Linked DNA regions of Homo sapiens: all the other regions are linked to region 2. The links are contacts of gene promoters, found by promoter capture Hi-C in human tissues and cell types (Jung and others, 2019). All regions are on one chromosome and are shown on one strand. Each heading gives the region's core, a stretch centred on a gene start or on the middle of the fragment in contact. The rest is flanking DNA. Distances are from core to core; before and after follow the strand shown.

What was found. The method cuts DNA at HindIII sites, captures the fragments that hold promoters and counts their contacts. A contact is called where the count stands out against the background at its distance.
Region 1: a contact is called between a fragment that was not itself captured here and the fragment with the promoter of GATA6 in region 2, in 2 of the 25 tissues and cell types used here (IMR-90 fibroblasts and aorta).
Region 3: a fragment that was not itself captured here is called in contact with the fragment with the promoter of GATA6 in region 2 in 1 of the 25 tissues and cell types used here (aorta).
Region 4: a fragment that was not itself captured here is called in contact with the fragment with the promoter of GATA6 in region 2 in 2 of the 25 tissues and cell types used here (IMR-90 fibroblasts and aorta).

The regions. Positions count from the first base shown.
Region 1 is chr18:22,762,698-22,766,054 of GRCh38, reverse strand. All of the region lies in intron 3 of RBBP8-AS1 (RBBP8 antisense RNA 1), which reads left to right. Among named protein-coding and RNA genes, the nearest start is that of RBBP8, 170 kb to the left of the region's middle. The HindIII fragment of the contact is 5,775 bases long and covers 1-3,357 here.
Region 2 is chr18:22,167,963-22,170,880 of GRCh38, reverse strand. GATA6 (GATA binding protein 6) reads right to left here and starts at 1,292. Exons shown (of 7, transcript NM_005257.6): 1 at 1,199-1,292. GATA6-AS1 (GATA6 antisense RNA 1 (head to head)) reads left to right here and starts at 1,913. Exons shown (of 2, transcript NR_102763.1): 1 at 1,913-2,214; 2 at 2,498-2,918. The HindIII fragment of the contact is 12,336 bases long and covers 1-2,918 here.
Region 3 is chr18:22,727,141-22,730,122 of GRCh38, reverse strand. All of the region lies in intron 4 of RBBP8-AS1 (RBBP8 antisense RNA 1), which reads left to right. Among named protein-coding and RNA genes, the nearest start is that of RBBP8, 200 kb to the left of the region's middle. The HindIII fragment of the contact is 3,429 bases long and covers 1-2,982 here.
Region 4 is chr18:22,782,328-22,785,588 of GRCh38, reverse strand. The region is part of intron 3 of RBBP8-AS1 (RBBP8 antisense RNA 1); the gene reads left to right. Among named protein-coding and RNA genes, the nearest start is that of RBBP8, 150 kb to the left of the region's middle. RefSeq lists enhancers at 840-1,389, 1,390-1,939. The HindIII fragment of the contact is 7,530 bases long and covers 1-3,261 here.

The DNA.
Region 1 (3,357 bases), core at 778-3,277, 590 kb before region 2:
GGAAATAGAGAGTCCAGAAGGAACGAGATAATCATCCAAATGTCCTTGTGCTGGTCAGATAACATCAAGGAAGTTGTGCTCAGTTCTTGGCCTGCACTTTACAAATGACAGATCTACAAAAAGGTTAATAAGAGGGACAAAATTCTGGAAATCATGTCATCTGAACGATGGTCAAAGTACTAGAGATATTTAGTCTGGAAAAGAGGAGACCAGTCTGGTATAGATTTGGAGTGGAAAGTGGGTGGTATGGAGCATGCCACAGCCCTCAGCTATTTGAAGAGTGTTCATTTGGAAGAGGAATCAGATATGTTCTGCAGTATTTCAAAGGATGGGAGAAACTTTATGACTGGAAATTGTAAGGAAGGGAAATTGTGGTCACTATATGTTAAAGTATACTCATTATAGATGTATCTGCTAGCATTTAAAAGTCTCCACTGTGTACAAGGCTCTCTGCTGAAATCTTCTTATATATTACTTATTTAATCCTTACATCAACTCTGTAAGATGGGTATTATTATCCTCATATAGATGAATAAACTGAGGCTTAGATTGACTAATTGATTTGCCTAAAGCTACACAACAGATTAAATGGTAGAGCTGGGACTGTAACTCAGGTCCTGTGACTAGAAACCCTGTGATTTCTAGCCCTGTGACCTATTTATTATAGGGCTTCCTGAGACACAGGACTTTCATGCTAAAACCAGAACAGTCCATGACAAACCAGAATGGGTGGTCATCCTAATTTTATCATATGTTCCTCTGCACCCCCAAGATGGAAACCTCTGACGCCTGGAAAGCTAGGATTATAGCTCAGCACCTGGCTTTGGCTCAAGTTTCAAAAGGCTTTCCAGAACATTTAACTATTCAAATATGGAAATGGTCTGCACTAAGTGGCAAGGAGCTCCCAATTCCCAGATGTAGTAAAAATGAAGCTGGATTCTACCTGTCAGAATTGTTGAAGATAAGAATTCTCTATTGGGCTTGTCAGTGAAGACCATTTCTGTAGTTTTTTCTATCACTGTCATTCTGCATTTCAGACAGAGAGGTGTCCTTTCTTGGATCCTGAGGAGATCCCCCAGGCTCTTTTTTATTTATTTAACTTTAAGTTCTGGGATACATGTGCAGAACATAAAGGTTTGCTACATAGGTGTATACATGTGCCATGGTGGTTTGCTGCACCTGTCAACCTGTCATCTAGGTTTTAAGCCCCACATGCATTAGGTATTTGTCCTAATGCTCTCCCTCCCCTTGCCCCCAACCCCCTGACAGGCCCTGGTGTGTGATGTTCCAATCCTGTGTCCATGTGTTCACATTGTTCAATTCCCACTTATGAGTGAGAACATGTGGTGTTTGGTTTTCAGTTCCTGTGTTAGTTTGCTGAGAATGATGGTTTCCAGCTTCATCCATGTCCCTGCAAAGGACATGAACTCATCTTTTTTTGTGGCTATGTAGTATTCCATGGTGTATATGTGCCACGTTTTCCTTGTCCAGTCTATCATTGATGGGTATTTGGGCATTTTTTTCTTTTTTATTATACTTTAGGTTTTGGGATACGTATGCAGAACATTCAGGTTTGTTACATAGGTATACATGTGCCATGGTGGTTTGCTGCACCCATCAACCAATGTCATCTACATTAGGTATTTCTCCTAATACTATCCCTCCCATATGCCCCCACCCCTTGACAGGCCCCGGTGTGTGATGTTCCCCTCCCTGTGTCCATGTGTTCTCATTGTTCAACTCCCACTTATGAGTGAGAACATGTTGTGTTTGGTTTTCTGTTCCTGTGTTTGCTGAGAATGATGGTTTCCAGCTTCATCCATGTTGTCTGCAAGGACATGAACTCATCCTTTTTTATGGCTGCATAGTATTCCATGGTGTTTATGTGCCACATTTTCTTTATCCAGTCTATCATTGATGGGCATTTGGGTTGGTTCCAAGTCTTTGCTATTGTGAATAGTGTTGCGATAAACATAAGTGTGCATGTGTCTTTATAGTATAATGATTCATAATCCTTTGGGTATATACCCAGTAATGGGATTGCTGGGTGAAATGGTATTTCTGGTTCTAGATCCTTGAGGAAACGCCACACTGTCTTCCACAATGGTTGAACTAATTTACATTCCCACCAACAGTGTAAAAGCGTTTCTATTTCTCCACAGTCTTTCCAGCATCTATTGTTTCCTGACTTTTTAATGATTGCCATTCTAACTGGTGTGAGATCGTATCTTATTGTGGTTTTGATTTGCATTTCTCTAATGACCAGTGATGATAATTTTTTTTTCATGTTTCTTGGCTGCATAAATGTGTTCTTTTGAGAAGCGTCTGTTCATATCCTTTGCCCACTTTTTGATGGGGTTGTTTTTTTCTTGTAAATTTGTTTAAGTTCATTATAGATTCTGGATATTAGCCCTTTGTCAGATGGATAGATTGAAAAAATTTTCTCCCATTTTGTAGGTTGCCTGTTCACTCTGATGATAGTTTCTTTTGCTGTGCAGAAGCTCTTTAGTTTAATTAGATCCCATTTGTCAATTTTGTCTTTTGTTGCCATTGCTTTTGGTGTCTTAGTCATGAAGTCTTTGACCATGCCTATGTCCTGAATGGTATTGCCTAGGTGTTCTTCTAGGGTTTTTATGGTTTTAGGTCTTATGTTAAGTCTTTAATCCATTTGAGTTAAATTTTGTATAGGATGTAAGGAAGGGGTCCAGTTTCAGTTTTCTGCACATGGCTAGCCAGTTTTCCCAACACCATTTATTAAATAGGGAATCCTTTCCCCATTGCTTGTTTGTGTCAGTTTTGTCAAAGATCCAATGGTTGTAGATGTGTGGCATTATTTCTGAGGCCTCTGTTCTGTTCCATTGGCCTATATATCTATTTTGGTACCAGTACCATGCTGTTTTGGTTACTGTAGCCTTGTAGTATAGTTTGAAGTCAGGTAGCATGATGCCTCCAGCTTTGTTCTTTTTGCTTAGGATTGTCTTGGCTATACGGGCTCTTGTTTGGTTCCATATGAAATTCAAAGAAGTTTTTCTAAATCTGTGAAGAAAGTCAATGGTAGCTTGCTAGAGATAGCATTGAATCCATAAATTATTTTGGGCAGTATGGCCATTTTCCTGATATTGATTCTTCTTAACCATGAGCATGGAATGTTTTTCCATTTGTTTGTGTCCTCTCTTATTCCTTGAGCAGTGGCTTGTTGTTCTCCTTGAAGAGGTCCTTCACGTCCCTTGTAAGTCGTATTCCACGGTATTTTATTCTCTTTGTAGCAATTGTGAATGGGAGTTCACTCGTGATTTGGCTCTCTGTCTATTTTTGGTGTACAGGAATGATTGTGATTTTTTTCACATGTATCCTGAG
Region 2 (2,918 bases), core at 43-2,542:
GATACCAGCCCTCCCTCAAAGGCACCGCTCCGGTCCCCGCGTCCTCCCCGCCCACCCCCTCGGCCGCATCCTTTCTCCGTGCGCGCGCCAGATCCCAGGGGTGATCTGCAGAAGCTGGCTGAGGCTTTCCTTCCGCCCTAAAGTGTCTCCCCCGGGCTGATGACACACAAAAGAATTTAAGTAGCTGTGCGTGTCGGCACCGCCGCATCCCGCCTCTCTGCGGATGCCCCTCTCCCGAAATGCCTCGGGGTGAGGGTTCCCCACGGGAAAACCCTTCGCGTAAGGAAGGCAACCTGTCCCCGAAAACGAAACCGCCGCGTTCTCCTATATTGGCTCTCCCAGAGCTTCCCGGACTGCGCTGACCAGCCCGAACGCGAGCCCCAGAGAGAAATGCAACTCGGCCCAGGGAAAGTGGGACGCCAGGGCGGGGGCAGCAGTCTGGGTCCTTCCCAGCAGAGGCAATGCGGAGAGCTTGTGGGGCGGGAATCGCCAGCCCCACCGGCGTCCCCGCGGCGCCGCACACCTTAGACACGGCCCGCGCCTGCAGCCACCAGCGTGCGCGCTCACGCCGGCCGGGCCACCCGGCCCACCCCGCGGTCATCTCCAGCAGCAGAAACGCCGGACCGTTCCGGAATCGGACGTAGCGGGGTGGAGCGGAGAGCAGAGAAAAGGAGGGGGAACGCAACGGGCTGGGGAGGGGGGAGCGTGAGACCGCCCCAGAGCCGAGGCGACCCCAAATGGGAGAGCAGGAAGAATGACAGGGAGACTCGGAGCGAGTGGGGGAGGGAGGTGAAATGCAGCCGGGCTGGCCTCCTCCAGGCTGCTCTTCCAAATCGCCTCGGCTCATCGGAGATTACCACACTAAAATTAATGCCCACACACAGACCTGGCTAGATAGCAAGAAAGAAGTTTCTCTGCCTGCCTAACTACCGGCTCCCGCCCCTTTGCGCCGAGATAACTCGGAGATAAGGCTGCGCGCAGATAAGCGCTTCGAGGAGAGAAAAAGAGACTAGAAGTTGGTCCGCGGTGTCCCGGGAGCCTGGGAGCCGCCTCAGCCCGCCCGGAGGGAAGGAGGGAAACACCGTCGGAGCCGACCGCGGCCTGGAGAGGGCCGGAGAGCCGGAGGCCAGGGGCCCGCGACGAGTAGGGGTGGAGGGGAGGAAAGCGGGGAGATCGCGCGAGGAGGAAGCAGCCGAACCTCGGGCGGGCGCTGCGCATGGAGAACGGCCGCGGCGGAGGGTGCTCCCAGGCGCGGAGAGAAGCCGAGGGCGCCAGCGGGCGAGCGCGAGTCCGGGGTCTGCGCCGCGCTGCTGGTGAATAAAAAGGAGAGAGGAGGCGCCTCTTACTGCTCTGCCGGAAAACTGCAGCCTGGGCTCCTGATTGGACTCACCGAGCCCTAAACAAACAGCGCTCGCCGAAGGGTGCCAGGCTGTGGGTCGGAACTGCGCTCAGCGAGCAGCTGGGCGCTGGAGGTGAAGAGGAGGAGGAGGGATCGAGGGGAGGAGAGAAAAGAGGGTGGGGAGGGGACGGCGAGGGGGGAGGGGAGCGCGCCGCCCAGGCAGACAATGAGAGCCGCGCTGCCTGCGGGCGTGGGCTGAGCCGCAAGCCCTGTCCCCGGAGTGGGGGCGAGTCCACCCGGGGGGCACCGAGCCCAGGGACCCCGGGGGAGGGGCGGAGGCCACAGAACGCCTGACCTGGCTAGCGACCCGCACCCATCCAGCGGCGGTGCACCCTCCCGCTCCCGCAGTCGCACACACACACCCACACGAGGGAGGGGGAGGGAGCCTTGGCACGGGAGGAGTTGGCAGTGCACAGTCCCGCGCCGCCGCCGCGGCGGGAGGGGCGCTCCAGACCTTGGGTCAGCACGCCCCCAGAAGGAAGGGGGAACGTGCTCTGCGCCCCCCCGCCCCCCAACCCCCGCCTAGCCCCTTCACAGCAAATGCGCTTTTTGCCCTGAAGTTGTGTGAGACCGACCTTAAACTTTCTCCGACCCTATCTCGGGATGCTACGGCTCAGGTCGTGGTGGTTTCGGGAACCTCAAGACAACATTCCCCAGCTGACCTTTGGGAACTTTAACTCGGGTCGTCATGTACGGAAAGGTAGTCTATGGGGTACGCAGAATGGAAAAGGGCTTCCACATCAGTCGTGTCCGAGGACGCTCTCCAACTTTTGATGTCCCTGGAGAGTTTCTGATATTTCCCTGGAGAGTTTCAGGTAAGTCACAGATAAGTCACTGCGAAGAGGGGGTGTCACCTTCCCTGGACCCAGCGCTAAATGCTGCTTCCCCACCCCCACGTTCATATACACACCCCCTCTTCGCTCCCTCCAAACAGTTATCACAACTCTGTACAAACTGATACGGTCCCTAGCGGGCAAAAGGGACTGGAAATGAACGTCGCGGGGTTATCAGCGCCGATCTGTCAGCGGCAACTCGCGCGGCCGCAGGCTCGTCCGCTGCAGGAGCCGTGATATATGTCTCGCTCCCTTTCGCTTACAGAAAGGATTTCTTCCGACAGACGTGACCCCAGAAGGCTGCCGAGGGAGACTTTAGGACAAGAGGCGTTGTTTTTGTGAGAATGAATTTTTATACTTTACCCCGACCCCACCCCCTACCCCCCGCCCAGGTAAATCCAAGTAAATGATTTTCTGAAGGTCGGTCTCCTAGAAAGCGTTTAGGCTCTGGTTTTTTGTTTTGTTTCTATTTTCGTGTTTTCCCAGTTAGGGAAGGAAGAGGAGCCTGTGCAGAGTTGAACTGGGGTGGAGAGGTGCCTTGTAAAGTATGGTTTCCAGAGATGGTGAGACCTCGTAGCTAAGCGTTGTTTCCTCTGCACGTAACTGTGAGTTGTGAACTTGTGGCTCCTGGGGGAGCGGGACAGGGCCTGGCAGTGCGGGGGAGGGGGCAAGGAATTCAGGAAGTT
Region 3 (2,982 bases), core at 296-2,795, 560 kb before region 2:
AAATTCCAAATAATCATGCCTCAAACAAGGTAAAGCTTTATTTATCTCATGTAGAAAAAGTTCCAAGGAACATGGCCTGGGGTTAGCGTGTCCCTCTCTGGTCTTCTGTGACTGGATGCCCATATTTTCTTTCTGTCATCCTTGGTGTGTGGCTTTCAGCTGTAAGTTCTCTTTATGTCCCATGGTGGCTGCTGGAGCTTCAGTCTCCATGTCCACATTCTTGGGGACATGATAAAATAGATAAAATACAGGATACCCAGTTACACTTGAATTTTAGGTAAACAACAAATGATTTTTTAGTGTTAGTATGTTCCAAACTGCATAGAATGTACTTATACTAAAACCAATTATTTGTTGTTTGTCTGAAATTTAAATTTAAGTAGGCACCCTGTGTTTTTATTTTTTAAATGTAACAACCTGACATATTCTAGGCAGAAAGAAGGAGGAAGGAAGGAGGGCAGAAGGTCCCAGGATTGTCCCTCCTGGGTGAGTAAGGCCCTTTCAAACACTTCTACTTACACCTCATTGGTTACCCTTAGCTGCAAGGGAGAATAAATGAATGCCTAGAAGAAAATTGACATTCTGTTAGTAAGGAAGAAGGAAAAAAAATAAATACTGGGTAGACAAATAGAAGTTTCTGTGACAGGCAGAAGTTTGTTCCAGTGCTTCTGTCAGGTGGATGAATGGAGGGATCAGACTTTCACAGCACTTTTTAACAGTTTCTTAAGTGGGACATCTTATAGTCTTCCTTTCAACCTCTTCACTCCTCTACACCAGTTTAGCAGTGTTAGATGCTACAAAGTAACCCAAGGACATTGTCCTTTTTTCTGGAAGACTTTCCTATCCTTTTTGTATGTGGAAAAATATAAATTAATTAGAAAAACTCAGCATATTAAGGTCTGTTTTAGGAATGTCCATAACTTAGGTATTTTGGGCACATGGTTTTGGGCTATGTACTAATTGTTGATTCATTCTATATAGTTTCATCAGTATCTCCTGAGATATAAGTATGAAACACAAACAACCACCTTAGAATAGTTTAAAATAAATCAACAAGCTTTAATCCAACAGACGATAAATATGGAGCTTTCCAATCTAACATACTTCATACTCTCTTGGCTATAGAAAGAAGTCCATTTATGCTGAAATATTTGTCAATGATAAGAATGAATTCCTTGTTAATGAGTAATTTATTGTTAACAAGTAACAAGTAAAGGCATTTTAACATAGCACAGGAGGAGGATATTCAATATAGTCAAAGGCAACACTAAGCAGACAAGAAAACAAATAGGTTTATGAAAATGGGATATTTGAGCCCTTGAAAAGCTTATGTCTACAAATGACCAGTTTTTAAAAGAATTCTGGCAATAGATACAGAACTGATATAGTAGTATGGCATTTAGAAATCCACAAAATAGCTTTGATCTTGGATCATGCTATGCAGTGGCTACAGGACTAGGCAGCAGCAGGGGCATAAGGTATCCCAATAATACCTCTGCTCAATGACCCAAGGCCTGGCAGGAGAAATGTTGGGCTGGGAGACTTGAAGATCATGTTTGGTGGTGAAGCCAAGCAGATGGTTCACCTGAAGCATTGCTTCAAGAGGGCTAATTAGAGAAACAAACCTAGGTACTTGCCAAGGTACCCGAGTATGCAGGTTGGAATGAGAGTAGAAGGCAAAGCCTCCTTTGGGTTTGCACAAGATCCAGAGTGCAGGGGACAAAGACTTTTTGTAGTGTGTACTCAGGCTTTTGTGTAGGTGGGAAGGTGCAGTTAAGAGCACTGTGCTGGTCTGGACAAGGGTCAAGGAGACACACAGCATAGTGGTAAGAAGTATGGTGATTCCTTGTTTGCCTGGGACTCAGTTCCAGATCATAGGACTTACAGCATAAACTGGGAAAGTCCTGGTCATACTATGAAAAAAGAAGGTGTTGAAATCCCAAGTGGACTTTGGGCCCAGTTGGCCTATACAGTAAGGAATCACCAGTTATCAAAGCTGAAAGATACCTCAGAGGCTGTCCATCTATGCAAAACTTTTTTTTTCTTTTATTATTATACTTTAAGTTTTAGGGTACATGTGCACATTGTGCAGGTTAGTTACATATGTATACATGTGCCACGCTGGTGCGCTGCACCCACTAACTCGTCATCTAGCATTAGGTATATCTCCCAATGCTATCCCTCCCCCCTCCCCCCACCCCACAACAGTCCCCAGAGTGTGATGTTCCCCTTCCTGTGTCCCTGTGATCTCTTTTTTAACTCAATTAAGATCTCTCTCAATCAGCAGTCCCCAAATTTTTTGTCACCAGGGACCGGTTTCACAGAAGACAATTTTTCCACAGACTGGGGTGGAGTAGGGAGGATGACTTTGGGATGATTCAACCACATTACATTTATCATGCACTTTATTTTTATTGTAATATATAATGACATAATTATGCAACTCACCATAATGTAGAATCAGTGGGAGCTCTGAGCTTGTATTCCTGCAACTGGATGGTCCCATCTGGGGGTGATGGAGGACAGTGACATGGAAGTGTGTTGCTTATGTCCAGTCTGCTCCGTAATCTCGTTTTGGTTGCTGTCACTGCAGAAAATTCTGCTTCACTAAGATAGGATGCTGGGAACGGAAGTAGGCTTTTCAGTGCTTTTGTGGCAATCACAGGATATTTCACCTTGACTTTAATCCAGAACTATGGAGATTTGAAGTTTTCTCAAACATACTTTTAAGGCTACCATCATATGCAATCTCAAGCAGTTGATCCTCTTCTAGCATGGACAAAATCTATTCACCTGGCATATTCACAAATGAGTCACAGATCCATTCCTTCCCAGTTTGGGAGTCTTTTGTGTTGGGAAGTAATGCTCAAACTCTTGAAAGCTGAGATAGGTGATCATCCACCAGCTGGGAGAAAGACAGCCCTGGCTCTGTCTCTTTCAATATCTTTGCTAATGTTTGAAACATGTCAGAGACCCCAGTTC
Region 4 (3,261 bases), core at 511-3,010, 610 kb before region 2:
GTATTCATGGGGTATTAATAGGCATCATAAGAACAAAAGTGTTTTATGTTCAATTAACTTGGGAAACCCTGGAAGACTTCTCTGAGTCTTTAAATTAACCTTTGTTGCAAATCTCTAAGAGAAAAACACAATATATAGTTTTCCCAAACTTACTAAGCCATAGACATTTTTTTCACGAAGCATTTACTTAGGCTAGTCTCCTGAAAGGCATGTTTAAACTACTTCTAAATATATTGATTGATACACTACATAGAAATTCCTGGGATCTATGGCAGAATGAGGGTATAGCAGGTAGATGTAGCTCACAGACAGAAATAATATATGGTATGAGAAAGGCTTATAATTTGCATGAAGAGATAAAATATTCACATCTTAAAAATCACTACTGAAAATTGATCAGGAATATCTGTTCCAATACCTTAAATATATTTTTGGCATGTACTTACTTAATTACATATTTTTCTTTAAAAAATTTTTAATGTAATACATTATACTAATAGATTTCTTAAAATTGGGAAATGTTGCTTTCTGGAATAAACTTTGCTTAGTTATAGAATATAACTATTTTAACACATTGCTAGATTTAATTTGTTAATATCTGGTTTCAGATTTTAATTGTAAGTATTCTAGTTTTCTTGTTGGAATATGTTTGTCAGGTATTGGCATTAATATTATGATAGAACTGTAAATTGAATTGGGAAGCCTTCTATTGTTGTTCCTTGAATTTAGGGACAACTTATCCACAAACATCCTGAATCTGGTACCATTTTTAATTGTAGAGCTTTAATATATGTATATTATATATAAAAAATATATATATATTTTCAAATTCTGTAGTTGTTGGGTTGTTTAGGTGTTCTACTTGTCATTTAGTTAATTTGGGGAATTTATATTTTGATAGAACATCATTTGTTTCCTTTAGATTTTCAAGTTTGTTGTCATAAGAAAAGTGGTAGCGGGGAGGGGCCAAGATGGCTGACTAGAAGCAGTTGCCATCAGAGGCTCCCACCAAGATAATGAAAATGGCCAACGAATCCTGCACTGGCAACTGTGGTATCCAGGTTCTCTCATTGAATTAGGCAGTTGGCGCAACCCATGGAGAGTGAGGAAAAGCAGGGTGGAGCAATGGCCCTCCTGGGAGTGCAGGGGAAGGGGAGCTCCCACCCCCAGCCAAGGGAGGTGTGAGTGATTGTGCTACCTGCCCCAGGAAACCACACTTTTTCCACAGATCTGTGCAACCCACAGGTCAGGATATCCCCCTTGTGAGTCCGTGCCACCAGGGCCTTGGGTCCCAAGCATAGAGCTGTGAAGATTCTTGGTGGCCACTTGGCTGGAGACTGCCTAAGACTACTGAGTTTCCAGGGGGAGGGTTGACCACCATCACTGCATTCTCCTGCTGCCTAAGATGACTGAGCACCTGCGGGGAGGGGCAGGAGCCATCACTGCAGCTCCAGTCTGCTGTTTTCCCCCTGCCAGTGCTGGGGATACTGGGTGATTTGGACTCAGGAGGAATTCCCCATGGCACAGCACAGCAGCTATGGCAGATTGTGGCCAGACTGCCTCTCTAGGCTGGACCCTGACCCATCGCTCCTCACTGTGCAGGGCCTTCCTGTGGGAATTTCAGCAATTCCAACCAGGGGTTTACAGACAGAACTCTGATCTCCCTGGGACAGAGCCCCAGGGAGGAGGGGCAGTCTCTGCAGATCAGCAAACTTAGTCTTTCCCAGTGCTGACTGTGGAATCCGGGCAGTCCTGATGAATGGGATTCCCCACAGTGCAGTGCATCCCCTCTGCCAAGGGACAGCCAGAGTGCTTTGTTAAGGGGGTTCCTGATCCTGTCCGTCTTGACTGGATGAGACCTCCCCTCCCCCTGCCCACCCACAGGGGTTGCGAGGCACCTTATACAGGAGCTTTTCTGCTGGCATCAGGTCAGTCCCCTTCCGGGACACAGATCCCAGAGGAAGGTGCAGGCAGCCATCTTTGCTGTTTTGCAGCCTCCAGTGGTGATACCTCCAGGTAGGGAGGGACCCAGGCAAATAGGGTCTGGAGTGGACCCCCAGCAAACTGCAGAAGCCTTACGGAAGAAGGGCCTGACTGTTAAAAGAAAAACAAACAAACAGAAAACACAGTAACAACCGCATCAACAAAAAAGTCCCTCCAAAAACCCCATCCAAAGGTCAGCAGCCTCAAAGATTGAAGCTAGATGAACTCATGAAGATGAGAAAGAATCAACAAAAAAAATGCTGAAAACTCAAGAAACCAGAGTGCCTCTTCTCCTCCAAATGATCGCAAGACCTCTCCAACAGGGGCATAGAACTGAGTGGAGGCTGAGATGAATTAATTGACAGAAGTAGGCTTCTGAAGGTGAGTAATAACAAACTTTGCTGAGCTAAAGGCAGATGTTCTAACCCAATGCAAAGAAGCTAAGAGCCATGATAAAACATTACAGGAAATGTTAACCAGAATAACTAGTTTAGAGAGGAACATAAATGACCTGATGGAGCTGAAAAGCACAACACAAAAGAACTTCACAATGCAACCACAAGTATCAATAGCCGAATGCATCAAGTGGAGGAAAGCATTTCAGAGATTGAAGACTATCTTGCTGAAATAAGGAAGGCAGACAAGATTAGAGAAAAAAGGATGAAAAGGAGTGAACAAAACCTCTGAAAACTATGGGATAATGTAAAAAGACTGAACTTATGACTGATTGGGGTACCTGAAAGAGATGGGGAGAATGGAACCAGGTTGGAAAACATACTTCAGGATATCATACAGGAGAACTTTCCCAACCTAGCAAGACAGAACAACATTCAAATTCAGGAAATCCAGAGAACCCCAGTAAGAGACTCCATGAGAAGATAAATCCCAAGACACATAATTATCAGATTTTCCAAGGTTAAAATGAAGGAAAAAACATTAAGGGCAGCCAGAGAGAAAGGCCATGTCACCTACAAAGGGAAGCCCATCAGACTAACAGTTGACCTCTCAGCAGAAACTCTACAAGCCAGAAGAGATTGGGGGCCAATATTCAACATTCTTAAAAGAATTTTCAACCTAGAATTTCATATCCAACCAAACTAAGCTTCATAAGCGAAGGAGAAATAAAATCCTTTTCAGACAAGCAAATGCTGAGGGAATTCTTCACCACTAGGCCTGCCTTGCAAGAGCTTCTGAAGGAAGCACTAAAGATGAAAAGGAAAAATCATTATCAGCCTACACCACAAAAGTCATTACCAGTCTAACACTACAAAAACACAT